3 separate regions of the Homo sapiens genome follow, and regions 2 and 3 are each linked to region 1. Evidence: promoter capture Hi-C in 16 types of primary human blood cells and fetal thymus (Javierre and others, 2016). All regions are on one chromosome and are shown on one strand. Each heading gives the region's core, a stretch centred on a gene start or on the middle of the fragment in contact. The rest is flanking DNA. Distances are from core to core; before and after follow the strand shown.

The links. Contacts are between HindIII fragments. The CHiCAGO score rates a contact against its expected background, and 5 or more counts as called.
Region 2: a contact is called between a fragment that was not itself captured here and the fragment with the promoter of OR51E2 in region 1, in 2 of 17 cell types (megakaryocytes and erythroblasts). The highest score is 7.2, in megakaryocytes.
Region 3: the fragment with the promoter of OR52E2 here is called in contact with the fragment with the promoter of OR51E2 in region 1 in 4 of 17 cell types (endothelial precursors, M1 macrophages, M2 macrophages and 1 more); the score reaches 5.6 in endothelial precursors.

The regions. Positions count from the first base shown.
Region 1 is chr11:4,695,662-4,700,263 of GRCh38, forward strand. It overlaps OR51E2 (olfactory receptor family 51 subfamily E member 2), which reads right to left and starts at 2,192. Exons shown (of 2, transcript NM_030774.4): 1 at 1,992-2,192. OR51C1 (olfactory receptor family 51 subfamily C member 1) reads right to left here and starts at 2,192. Exons shown (of 2, transcript NM_001396051.1): 1 at 1,992-2,192. The coding sequence starts at 2,000. The HindIII fragment of the contact is 1,338 bases long and covers 969-2,306 here.
Region 2 is chr11:4,995,533-4,999,276 of GRCh38, forward strand. OR51L1 (olfactory receptor family 51 subfamily L member 1) reads left to right here. Exons shown (of 3, transcript NM_001004755.2): 2 at 1,950-2,051; 3 at 3,292-3,744. The coding sequence starts at 3,451. Among named protein-coding and RNA genes, the nearest start is that of OR51L1, 2.6 kb to the left of the region's middle. The HindIII fragment of the contact is 269 bases long and covers 1,544-1,812 here.
Region 3 is chr11:5,057,552-5,062,154 of GRCh38, forward strand. OR52E2 (olfactory receptor family 52 subfamily E member 2) reads right to left here and starts at 2,076. Exons shown (of 1, transcript NM_001005164.2): 1 at 1,099-2,076. The coding sequence starts at 2,076. The coding sequence ends at 1,099. The HindIII fragment of the contact is 5,080 bases long and covers 1-2,766 here.

The DNA of each region.
Region 1 (4,602 bases), core at 942-3,441:
AAAGTTTAATCTCAGATTTGTTTTTCTCTCCCTCATCTCAACTTTCAGCAATGTTTACCTCCTCCTCCTTGAAACTTTCTCCTTCATTAGCTTCAGTGATGGTTATTCTGTGAGGTTTTTTTTTTTCCTGTTTGTTAAACAATGGTTTTGTTCTCTGCCTTATAAATTGTGGGATTCTAGAGGAGTCTGCTTTTCTCCCAAGAAGTACCTCTTCTTTTCTTGCTTTTCATATGCTCTCCTTGAGATATCTTGGTTATTCTCATGGCTTTAAATAGCACTTATATCCAGAAGACTCATAAATCTGCAATCTAATTATGGCATCTCCAGAGTTCTGTATTTTAAAAGTTAGCAGAATCTTTAACGCTGTGGCAAAGTTTCTGGTTTTAAGCGTAAAGGTAGTAATGAGACATGAAAATACAGTGAAGCAATCAAACCTGTAATTTAGAAAAATAATTGACAGCATTTTGGAGAACAAAGCTCCTTGCTGCATGTGGTGAATAAAAAGTAAATAAAATACTGTGGCTACCCCTGAGGGACATCTCTACCCATCATCACTCAGTTACTTCAACTTCTATATGAGACAAATGGAACTCATTCTCTCGTCCCCTCCAAACCTGGCTCTTCCTCCTGCTTCATTTATCAGCAAACGACATCGAACTCTAGTAAATCATTGAATTAAAATTACTACCCACCACACACACACACATGTGTGCACACACATACCCTCCTCTTTCTCTCTCTCATCCCTTACATATAAAGATTAGTTTTTAACTGATTCTACTCCTGAAATGTAAAAGATGAGAACCTCGGGAGGTCTATATAAGAAGGCCAAGCAATTGTTAGTAGTGGGTATTTGCAGCTATTATTTCATTGCATTTTTCTTACATTGAAAAAATCTTAAGTGTTTATATTCAAGACAAGAGGGGGACTAATGAATATCCTTAGAAGGAGGCACTAAATTTCCCCCAAGCTTCTCTTTTGTGCTGCCTTCACTCTAGAATCTTTCCGACCCATCCTCTCCAATCCATATATACTTTCATTTTCTCTCTTGTGAAATAAGCTATATTCTCTCAACTAATTTTTCTGCCCACTCGGATTACAATGATGCTCCTCTTTCATTGCACTATTATAAGCTATAGCTTGTGGCTGTCTTAATCTGCTGAACTAGACCTTATAGTGTCATCAGTATTCTCCATGCTATTGTCAATGGTATGGCTATCATGTGTGACTGACCTGGGTTCAGATTCTTGCTCAAACACTAACTAGTTTTGAGACCATCTACACCATTAATAAAAATATTACTCATAGAAATAGCTACCATTTACTGGACACGTGTTCTGTGAACATTATTGTCCTCAGTGCTTTATAAGCATTATTTTAATTCTTACTATGTCATCATGTGACAAGTATTATTAGATTCACTTTAAATTCATTTTTCTGGTAAAGACACTGAGTATCAGAAGTCTGAAACATATTTGAAATCACATACAACTGGTGAAAGTCAGAGCTGAATTTTTAACTCAGGTCTTTTTAATTCCAAAGCTCGTGCTCTCAAAAACAATTGTTTTACTGAAATCTACAAGTAATATAAACTTTCTGTGACCCAGTTTCCTCATCTATAAGACAGGATATGCGCTGTGTCTAATACCAGTAGCTGGCAGGCAATGCGTTCGAAATTGGTAACTTTTCATTTTTAGTAATAGTTATTGGGCATAGAAATGAGATTCACTGACTGTGATAAATATATCAGCACACTGATTAAACCATTTGACTAAAAACAAGTTATCTAACCTATATCAGGCAGAACGAAATACCCATTCTCTACGTATTTCCTGGGAATAAATAATTCTGAAATTCTACCGTCCTCCTCAGCCCACCATACCAACATCTAATCTAATTCTGCACATTGTGAGGAAATTACTCCCTGTGGGTGAGAAAGTCCAATTCATCTAGAGTCAAGCATTTTCATTGAACAAAACAGTTTTACTTACAGAGCCCATACAGCAGTTCGGCCTGTTCCTTTCAGGCTGACTCAGAAGGCTGAGGAGGCTTTAGATTCCAGGGGAGGGCCGAGCTTGCAAATATGAGGAGACTTATTCCAGCCTGACTGGAGACAGGCACAGAGCTGAAAGGCCAATTCCTGGTGGTGGTGCTAACTCACTGTGTCTTCAGGGTGTGGAGATTCCCAGAAGACTTCTTTTGCCTCATACAGTCCTTTTATATCTGTTCCATTATGCAATTACTTACGGTGGCTATGTGCTTTATGGGCTGATGTAACCTTTTTTTCATGTGTCATTTCACTCAAAAGCTTTTTTATTTAACAGCTTTATTGTTATATCATTCACATACTATAAAATTCACCCATTTATAGTGTATGATTCAATTTTTTTTAGTAAAGTCACAGAACTGTGCAAGAACCATCATCACAATTCAATTTTAGAACATTTTTTATTACCCTTAAAAGGAACCTCATAATCACTAGCAGTCACTCTGAAGGAGATTTTAAAAAACGAAATATTGTAGCAAATTGCTAAATGACATCTCCCATTATGAGTGAGAGTCCAACTCCACCCCTTAACTCCTCAGTATCTATGATTATTCACAGCAGTATGGTTTCATTAGCCCACCTGTGGTTCTTTGCAGCAGCAGTCTTTCTCTTACAGATAAAAAATAATTCATTTACTCATCCATACATATATCCAGTAAATATTTCATAAGAATGTCCCATATTCTAAACATTATACTCAGTGATAGAGTTTTTTTTTTTAAGAATACACCATAATTCTTACTGTTTAGGATTTTAGTGTAGAAGATAGACAGGTTAACCAATAATTACATGTTAACCAATGATAAGGTTATCCTAGAGGCATGAACCAAATGCTTGGTGAATACAGTAGGTAAAAATCTTGGTTCACAACTTACTTGTGTATAAAATACGGTTTCATTTACTTTTTTATAATTTGACCTATTTCGTATTTTGAAGTCCCAACCTACCAGGTTGAAGAGAATTAGTCACAATAATTTGGGGTTCTCTCTACTTATAGTCAAATTTTGAAAATCTTGTATTATACCAAGAAAAATTGCAGGTAGGTGGGTGATTGACTTGGCCAATGATGTCACCTTCTGTCAGTTTACTATCACTCTCATTAGTCTTTAATAAATAGAATGCATAGATTGCTATAAGTTGTCCATCTTTTCTCCTTATGGCCTCTTTAGATCCTTAGATATTCCCACCAATTTGGACCACACTTGGGCATATGGGTCTTTGATTCATTCTCAGTTTCTGTCTCTTACACCCTGCATTTAATCCATTGGTAAATTATGTCAATCTCTTTGAAAAATACAATCAGAAATTGATCACTGTTTATCATCTCCAGAAATGTCACCTTTATTTAAGTCACAATTATCTCTCACTTGGGTAACTTCAGTAGTTTCCTAACCATTCTCCCTGCTTCCGATATTATCTCCTCTCCACTATCAAATCTGTTTCACTACTGAAAATGTCATGGCCTGAGATATTTTCTTCTTCATAATGTAATAAAAACAATAAATAACAAGAACAATAATATTTTATTATGCATTCTACATCCATGATACTAGGCCAAGTGTTTGTGGTAGACAGGATAATGGCCCCTAAAGATACCTATGTCTTAATGCCTGGAACCTGTGAATATGTCACCTTACATTGCAAAGGGACTTTGCAGATGTGATTAAAGTTAAATAACTTGAGATGGCAAGATTAGATGGATTAGCTGGGTGGATCCAATATAGTCACACGGGTCTTTAAAAGTAGAGAACCAGAGAGATGGCAGCATGAGAAGGATTTGATCCACTGTTGCTGGCTTTGAAGATGGCAGAAGGAGGCTACAAGCCAAGGAATGTGGAAAGCCTCCAGAAGGAGAAAAGAAGATAATTGATTTTTCCCTAGCCCCTCCATAAAGAAATGCAGCCTGGTGATTCCTTGATTTTAGCTCAGTGAGATCCATGTCAACTTTTGACTTACACAACTCTACAATAATAAATTCAGTAGAAGAATCCATTATTAGTTTGATTTATGTCTTAAACCATGTTTAAACCAAAAATTAGAGTGTAAGTAACTTACCTAAGTTTCTCAGTTATAAATGGCACAAGTAGTATTCAAAGCCTCGGCTATCTGACACCCTCTCAGTTTTCAAAACTCATTTTCTAAACAGTCTTCACATGACTATCCATTCACCACTACTTTCAATTTGAGTCATCTACACCCAAAAGCCTGCATGCATGCTGATGTGCCAAACTGAATGTTAACAGGTTGTCACTTGTGCATGCTTATTCCTTGCACATAAAGGTATTTTATTGTTGTGTTTCCGCACAGGAAACTTCTTGAGACCTTTGAAAACACTTTCTCTACCAAGTTGGGCAAATTGTAGGGCTGTGACTCTTTTCCCATTAGTCTCAGAAACTATTTGGGAATAGTCACATATTTTTATTCTTATGGTTGAAAGAATGTTACTCTTATAAGAAAAATAAAGTTACTATAGTGGTACCATGTAAATTCTGTGCCAGAGCTTAGTACATGAAAATGAAACTAGTGTGTGTACTGGTTAAAGCACCAATACACAC
Region 2 (3,744 bases), core at 428-2,927, 300 kb after region 1:
ATTTTAAGATAAGCGATAAGCTGATTAGCAGAGAATAGGTTTTGATACTAGAGAGGCTGTAAAAAAATGGTCTTATGTTCAGTAGTTCTCCCTTAATTACCTGGAATAGGTGAATGTGTGACATAAGCCTATTCATGCCTCTGCCCTTTGAAACAGTCTTGTTATTACTCCCAGTTCTTTTCTATTATTTCTCTTTCGACCTCAGTGTGATTAAGTTGTACTAAAATCAACAAAGAACCACAAAGAATCATTGTCAGTGACCCAGAAATAGAGTCAAAAGAAAATGAATAGAGAAAAGACAATAAATGGATTTTAAAAAGTGAAAGACATGACAGATATGGCAGTGAGAGGATAAGAAAGGGAAAGTACACACAGAAATAGAAACGGGAAAGGGGCTTAGGGGGCCCGGGTAGTGGAGGAAATGCGGAAAAGTAGCTCAAAGCATACAAACTTGCAGTTATGTAGGAAGAATAAGTCTAGAGATCTAATATACAGCATGACCACAGTTCATAATATTGTAGAATGGGAACTCTTTTCAGGTGAGGGATAAATCAATGAGATAAAGCAGTGAGTTAATAATATTGTAGAAATGGGGACTCTTTTTAAGTGAGGGATAAACCAATATGAGCAAGAATTAAAACCACAGAAATTGTATACCGAAAATTTGCCAAGAGAGTAGAGCTTAGGTGTTCTTAGCATACACATGCACGTGTGTGCATGCACACACACACACACAGGCACATAGTAATGACCATTTCACTATGTATATGTCTATGTATATGCATATATATATATAAACATCATTCTGTATACCTTAAATATACACAGTTAAAAATTAATAGGGATTACAAACAGAAATATTCCTGCCTGTCCTAACCTCAAATCTATTGGCCAGTCTACAACTGAAGTTTTCTAAACATCGCAATCTGCACATAGGGGACTTGCACATAAAGCAGGGAGAAAGAGAATTCTAAAGAGTAGTGATCCACTTTGTTCTTTGCATTCTATGTGAGAATTTAAGAAAATATGATTTATTTCAGGACTGAAAGAATTAAAGGAGAAAACATGGAATATTTTTCTGGCATGGGGTAAAATAAACTACTTCTCCACTGTGGCCACAGTTTTCTTTTCTTTTTCTTTTTTTCTCTTTCTTTCTTTTTCTTTCTTTTCCTTCCTTCCTTTCTTTTCTTTTCTTTCTTTCTTTCTTTCTTTCTTTCTTTCTTTCTTTCTTTCTTTCATTTCTCTCTCTCTGTTTCTTTCTTTCTCTCCTCCCTCTCTCTCACTCTGTGTGTGTGTGTGTTCTTTTTATTTCGATGTTAATACCTATATCATTTTTATGAGCTCAACTGTACAACAGGAGGTCAAAAAATTTTTCTGAGTGAGGAGAAAGAAAAAATAAAGTCAGCTAGTGATATGGAAGACTGGAGAGAAAAATGTTGCTTAGGGGTGAAGAAAAATAAATGCTCTAAACACATACTCTGCTGGGTGTGAAGAATTTGATGGGTAGCTGACTGCTTTATTTAAGACGAGGGTCTCAAATGAAAGCTTCATTCACATTGCCTAGGCTAGAGAAGAGTACCAGGTTAGGTTCTGACTCATAGAAGATGGAGGATTCCTGTACTTGGGTAAAAGTAGAAAAAGAGACAAATCCTTCTCATTACATGGAGAAGAGGGCTTTGTGCTTTCTTTTGTTCCTCAGATACAGATTCTAAATCAAGTCCTCTTTGGAATTCTAAGTTGTGCCATCTAAGAACTTTCAGTCTTCACGGTATGAAAGTGAGATAAGAATCAGTCAAGGGATTTTTAAAATAAAGCTTTTTATTAAATATAATGGAGATAATAAAAAGAAACAGCTAGCTAGCTGGAGCCTTGTGATACGAGTTTGAGACCACATTTGGAAATATTTTTACTCTAGGATGAGGCTAAGTCTTATCTTAATCTTTCAAAAGGTCAGAGACTAAGGGTCCAGAAGGAGGGTTGAGGGAATTACTGAGATGTTGCTACAGAGAGATGTTGCTGAAGTCTATGAGGCCCAGACTCTAAGGGACAAGGTAAGTAAATAATTTTCTCAGGGGCAGTTAATGGAACTAGACAGGGTTAAAATAAAGACCTAGGTAACAGAAGGGGCAGATAATCTCATAATGCTCAGCTGCTGTACCAAGTGCCATCAACACAGTATGATACAGCAAGGGCAACACTGGTTCAGCACAGGCAAGGAGGCTATTACAATAACAATTGCTGAGGGAAAGTAAAGCCAGATGTTAATATCATATTTTGAAACACTCAGAAGAGCTTGGTTGTTTCTAAGAGGCACTGATAGTGAATATTTAAGGCCTAAATTCTGGATTGTCATGAGTTCACAGAAGTAGGTGCAAGTGGGTCAGAAAATTAAGAACCACTTAATATTTTGATTGATGATCTTTTAAAAATGATATTAAAAGCATCGTTTGGAAACAGAAATCAATCAATCAAAAAAATCAATAGAAATAAAGTGGAAAAGTACCTCTTTTACTGAAAACATGTAATAGATAACTGTTAAATGCATTGTTCTCATTTTGTGGAAGAGCAGAAAGGGAAATGTCTTTAATGGACTTTCGTAGTTATATTGTGATGTTATGGCCTAAAGATTTATTTTCAAACTATTTAAACTCTTATTTCACAAACACACACACACACACACACACACACACACACACACACACACGCATATACACTCACACACTATATATATAGTTTTTTTACCGTGAATTTTTTTTTAGGTCAGGAATAGTTGCTATACTAAACAGCTCAAAACTGTGTTGGTTAAATAGCAGCTCAATAAAGCATGCTGGGATTATGGATTCTGGTATTATGGATTCTGTTTCTTATGTTCATGCTCTCTTTTCATATAGGGGTATTTATCTTGTATTATTAAAATATTAAATATTTAAAATGTTTAAATATTATAAATCTTTAAATAAAAATGCAGCTGAATAGAAATTATGTTGAGTCCATGGGATCAATTCGATTGTCATGAATGAAAAGATAGCCTAGAAGCAATAACTGATTAACTCAAGAACATTGGCCAGAAACTCATACAAATCCATCGACATTCACTCTGACTTTTCTCTATTTTCATCTTTATAATAATTAGTAAAAGTTCTTTTTTCTCTATTCTCACGTTGCTTAAATTCTTTAGTGTCTTTGATGCAAATCCAACGTATTTCTTGCCAGAGATGACCATATTTGTGTAGTCCACATTTTTGTTCCAGAATTTGTGCTCCTTAATATTGGGAAATGTTTTTTACATAGGGCCGACAAGAGATACCAGCTTCCTTCCTCTGTGAGGTTAGACGAAAGATGTATTTTTGTCCTCATTCCATTATTTGTACTCAAAAGAGATAACTTTGAGGGATCAGGAAGGAAAACACGAACCATTCCTCACTACTTGCTGAATTACTCAAAGTCACTATGGGAGACTGGAATAACAGTGATGCTGTGGAGCCCATATTTATCCTGAGGGGTTTTCCTGGACTGGAGTATGTTCATTCTTGGCTCTCCATCCTCTTCTGTCTTGCATATTTGGTAGCATTTATGGGTAATGTTACCATCCTGTCTGTCATTTGGATAGAATCCTCTCTCCATCAGCCCATGTATTACTTTATTTCCATCTTAGCAGTGAATGACCTGGGGATGTCCCTGTCTACACTTCCCACCATGCTTGCTGTGTTATGGTTGGATGCTCCAGAGATCCAGGCAAGTGCT
Region 3 (4,603 bases), core at 826-3,325, 360 kb after region 1:
AGTATGAATTAAAATCAATGCATTTGTATACTAAGTTCATTGACAGGGAGACTCAAGACTTTTTAAAAATAGGTTCTTCCCCAAAGGACCTATTTATTCATTGTGATTTTGAAAAATACCTCTTTTGTTTTAGAATAATTTTAGATATAACAGTAATTCGTGAGGATATTGCAGATAGTTCCCATATATCCCACATTTAATTCCCCTTATTGTAAACATCTTATATTAGTGTAGTCTATTTTCCAAAATTAATGAAGCAGGTAATTGATACATATTTATTGCTAAAGCTCATACTTTATTAAGATTTTCTTACTTTTTAGCCAATGTCCTTTTTCTAATCCAGCATCCCATTTAGGATACCCCATTACCATTAAATCGCTGTGTCTCTTAAGGGAAGATAAACATAAATTATAATGATATAGAACAATTAAAACAAAAAGTATGGACATTTCAAAGTTGAAGTTGCTCATTAATTTTAGACTCTATAAATTCCACAAAGTAAGGGAAGGTGACATAGTCAAAATTTTATCTCCAGCATCCTACAGTTATAAAAGTTGACACTCAGAAAATTATTATAATTGTATTGTAAGAAGCAGCTCCATGAAACATCAATTACCCAGCAAAAATGGGTGCATTCATATCTGATATAAACACTTCAACCAGCTATTCCAAATAATAGAGAAAAATAACATTACCTGCTTAAATGAAATTATAAGAGTATTGAATAGAGAGAACAAGAATGCAGCAATATGGTAAAACCCCATCTCTACTAAAAAACAAAAATTAGCCAGGCCATGGTGGTGCATGCCCATAGTCTCAGCTACTTGGCAGGCTGAGGCAGGAGAATCACTTGAACCCCAGGGACAGAGGTTACAGTGAGCTGAGATCATGCCACTGCTCTCCAGCCTGGGCAACAGAGCAAGACTCTGTCTCAAAAAAAAAAAAAAAAAATGCAGCAACAGATCTCAAAATGTGGTATGAAAAGCAGATGGAGAAATTCAATGTATTTAAATACAGAAGAGAGCCAATAAAGCCACATATTAGAATATAATTTTTATGACAAGACATTTCTCTCACTGAAATTTCATAAAATTGCATTCAGAACCTCGTATGTATTAGGTACTCTTCCTTTTCCATTCCTTGTTCCTGCAATAATATTTTCTTCACACATTTATAGATCTGCTTGGTTCTGACTCCATATATGACAGGATTGAGCATTGGTGGCACCACAACATAGAGATTGGCTAGGAGTATATGGATATAGCGGGGCACATTTCGGCCAAAGCGATGAGTCATAAAGGAAAAGAGGGCTGGTGTATAGAAGGCAAGGATTACACACACATGTGAACCACATGTGCTGAGGGACTTGAGTCGGGCTTCATGAGTAGGAAGACGGAAAACAGCACAAAGAATATGCACATAAGAAAGGGCAATGACTGTGATGTCAAACACTAGATTACAAATGGCACATAAACCATAAATAATATTGATTTTGATGCTGGCACAAGATAGATGAGCAAGACCCATGTGCTCACAGTAGGTGTGGGGAATTACATGATTCCCACAGAAGGGCAACCGCAATATAAGAAGTATAGAGGGAATGACGAAAATTAAAGCCCTCACAAACACACCAAGACCAATCACAGAAACAACCTTGTTGGTGAGGATGGCGCTATATTGGAGTGGATTGCAGATGGCCACATAGCTGTCATAAGCCATTGCCACAAGGACTGCTGACTCCATAAGTGTGAAGTTGTGGATAAAAAACATCTGGGTGAGGCAGGCTTCAAAGATGATCCCTCTGAGGTTGATCCAGAAGATTCCAAGCATCTTAGGGATGGTAGCTGTTGAGAGACCCACATCAGTGGTGGCCAACATGGCCAGGAAGTAGAACATGGGCTGGTGTAGGCTGCTGTCAGTCTTGATCACAAGTAGAATAGTGAAGTTCCCTATGAGTGCGATCATGTACACAGCACAGAAGGGAAAGCCGATCCAGATGTGAAGTGTTTCTAGTCCTGGGATCCCCAGCAACAGGAAGGAGGAGGGGTGAAACTGGGTGTCATTGGGAAGGAACATCCTGCTTGTGAATGCATAAGTCCACAGTCTACAGAAATGTATGCTCACCCAATCTGCATGTAACCACACAGGCTTCTGCAGTTCGGAGACAAAAATTTAATATAAGAAACATACATTTGTGCACATGATTTTTTGCAGGAAATTCTATCACTTTGAAACATACTGTATACAGAGCACTTTAGGTAAGTAACAAACATCTCAGGGATAAATTCTTAGATGAATTTATACAGTAAATTAAAATAAAATGTTCTACGTGATACTTTCAACTTTGCTAGCATTCTACTCTACCTAAACCCTATCAATATAACCTCACTGCCAATATTATGCTAAGATTTGCCTGAATACTTTTTACTTTAGCTATTCTCTCTCATTATTACCATCATCACCAAAGAACCCCTTTGAATTTTGAACAAGGTAGGGTTTTCCTAGCCCTTAAATGTAGTGGTGGAAATTAATTCCAGTTGATTGAATGATAACACATATGGATTAACACAGAGGGTGGGTACACTCTATTCAATAAACACACAGACTGATCAAAATTTATGCCAAAATATACTAAAAATCACTTAAAGGTTTAAAACTGTCCATTTAAAAATATTTACTCATTATTACTGTAAAATAAAATACAGAATAACAGTGAAAACAGTCGCATCAACTACCAATTATTGAAGTACTGCCTACTATTTGCAAAGCTTTGTTATGTGCAAATCATCTCCAATTTATAAAAAGAACACCCTTCAAGGAGAATATTAATTTTTCATATTTTCCATGTAAGCGATCAATGAGTTTAAGAGGCTTGTCAGATGTTTAAAATGCTTCTAATGGATGATCTGGGAAATTAAGCTAGGGATAAAAGTAGTGAATTTACATAGAAGGAAAATAGAAGGAAACAAAAGTGTAATGTATGACTTATCTGTGTTATTCACACCGGATAAAATACACACACACATGCATAATATTACACACAGGTTAGACAAATACATATTTTTTTCAAAACTCACAACATCCATCTGAATAACACGTTAGTATCTCTAGCTCAAAGCTGAGGCAATCATGACTTCAGGAATTTAAGATATATGTCAAATGTTTAATTAAAAACTAGTGAGAAAAAACAGGAGCCTTATAATATTAGATTTATGATAATGCAATCATGTTATTTATTTATTTATATTTTATTATTTGAGACAGAGTCACACTTTGTCACCCTGATTGGAGTGCAGTGGCACAATCTCAGCTCACTGCAACCTCTGCCTCCCAGGTTCAAGGGATTCTCCTGCCTCAGCCTCCAGAGAAACTGAGATTACATGCACGGGCCATCATACCTGGCTAATTTTTTATATCTTTAGTAGAGACGGGGTTTCTCCATGTTGTCCAGGCTGGTCTTGAACTCCTGGCCTCAAGTGATCTGACCACCTCTGCCTCCCAAAATGCCGGGATTACAGGAGTGAGCCACTGCACCCAGTCTCAATCATTTCAAAGTTACCTAAATTCATCTAATCTGTCTTCATGCACCTTGCTTGTAATATTTGATGGGGGAGTATTTTCAGAGCATTTCTGACCATGGAAAGCTTTTACTGTTCCATAGAAAAATGCCTTACTCAAGATTAGAGAGGTTAACAAACCCTGGCAGTTTGAAAGAAATGCCATGTAAATTATTGGGATTACTACCCAAATTAATGATAGTGATAAGTATGTAAATGATATGCTATGTAAGTCTATACCCCATTTTATAAAATGTGGGATGTTTAACAGGTAAAATAAAGAATAAATGACTACAAGAAAAAAATTGTCTGTGTACATAAAATAGCCATCTTCTTGAGAAATATGTAAATGAACAAAATTACAGGCATCATGTTTTTGAATACACAGAACTCCATAAAATATAACTAATGGTTTTCAGAAGATACAAAAATAGAAATATCTGGCACAACAATATTTTGGTGATAAATAAGTGCCACCAATCCTGTCTATCATGTCACATCAAACATTCTTTATGTGTTAAAATCTATTCTGAATGAAAACACAACTGTAAAATCACTAAGCTAATTTGTTAGTGAAATAAAATAACTCCTCTTTTAAGAGAGTTTTTTTTCCTGAGAATAACTGCTGAATAAGTTACATATATATGACTTCTTTAACCTGTGCAGAATTACATAGCTCCTTCTGAATTACTTTGTTTGGAACATCAAAGTAGTATTTGAAACAGCCATACCTCAATCAATGTGAATTGGGAATAATTAAAGAGATCATCAGACAGAAATTGTTTTTGAAAGGAAAAACAAAGAAATCAAACACAGATTTACTCATTATTTTACCTCTTATATTTTATAACTCCATTTCAAGCTAACACCTTAAGCTTCAATCTTATACTAATTTACAAGAACTCTATACTTACTCACCTGTGCACACATTTTATGTTATTGCTGTCAGACTTTATTTTTATATTTGCATCAATTAACAACTTTTTGCAGTTGTAGTTATTCTTAATACTTTTTTCCTTTTACTTTTATACTAGTGTTAAAAGTTA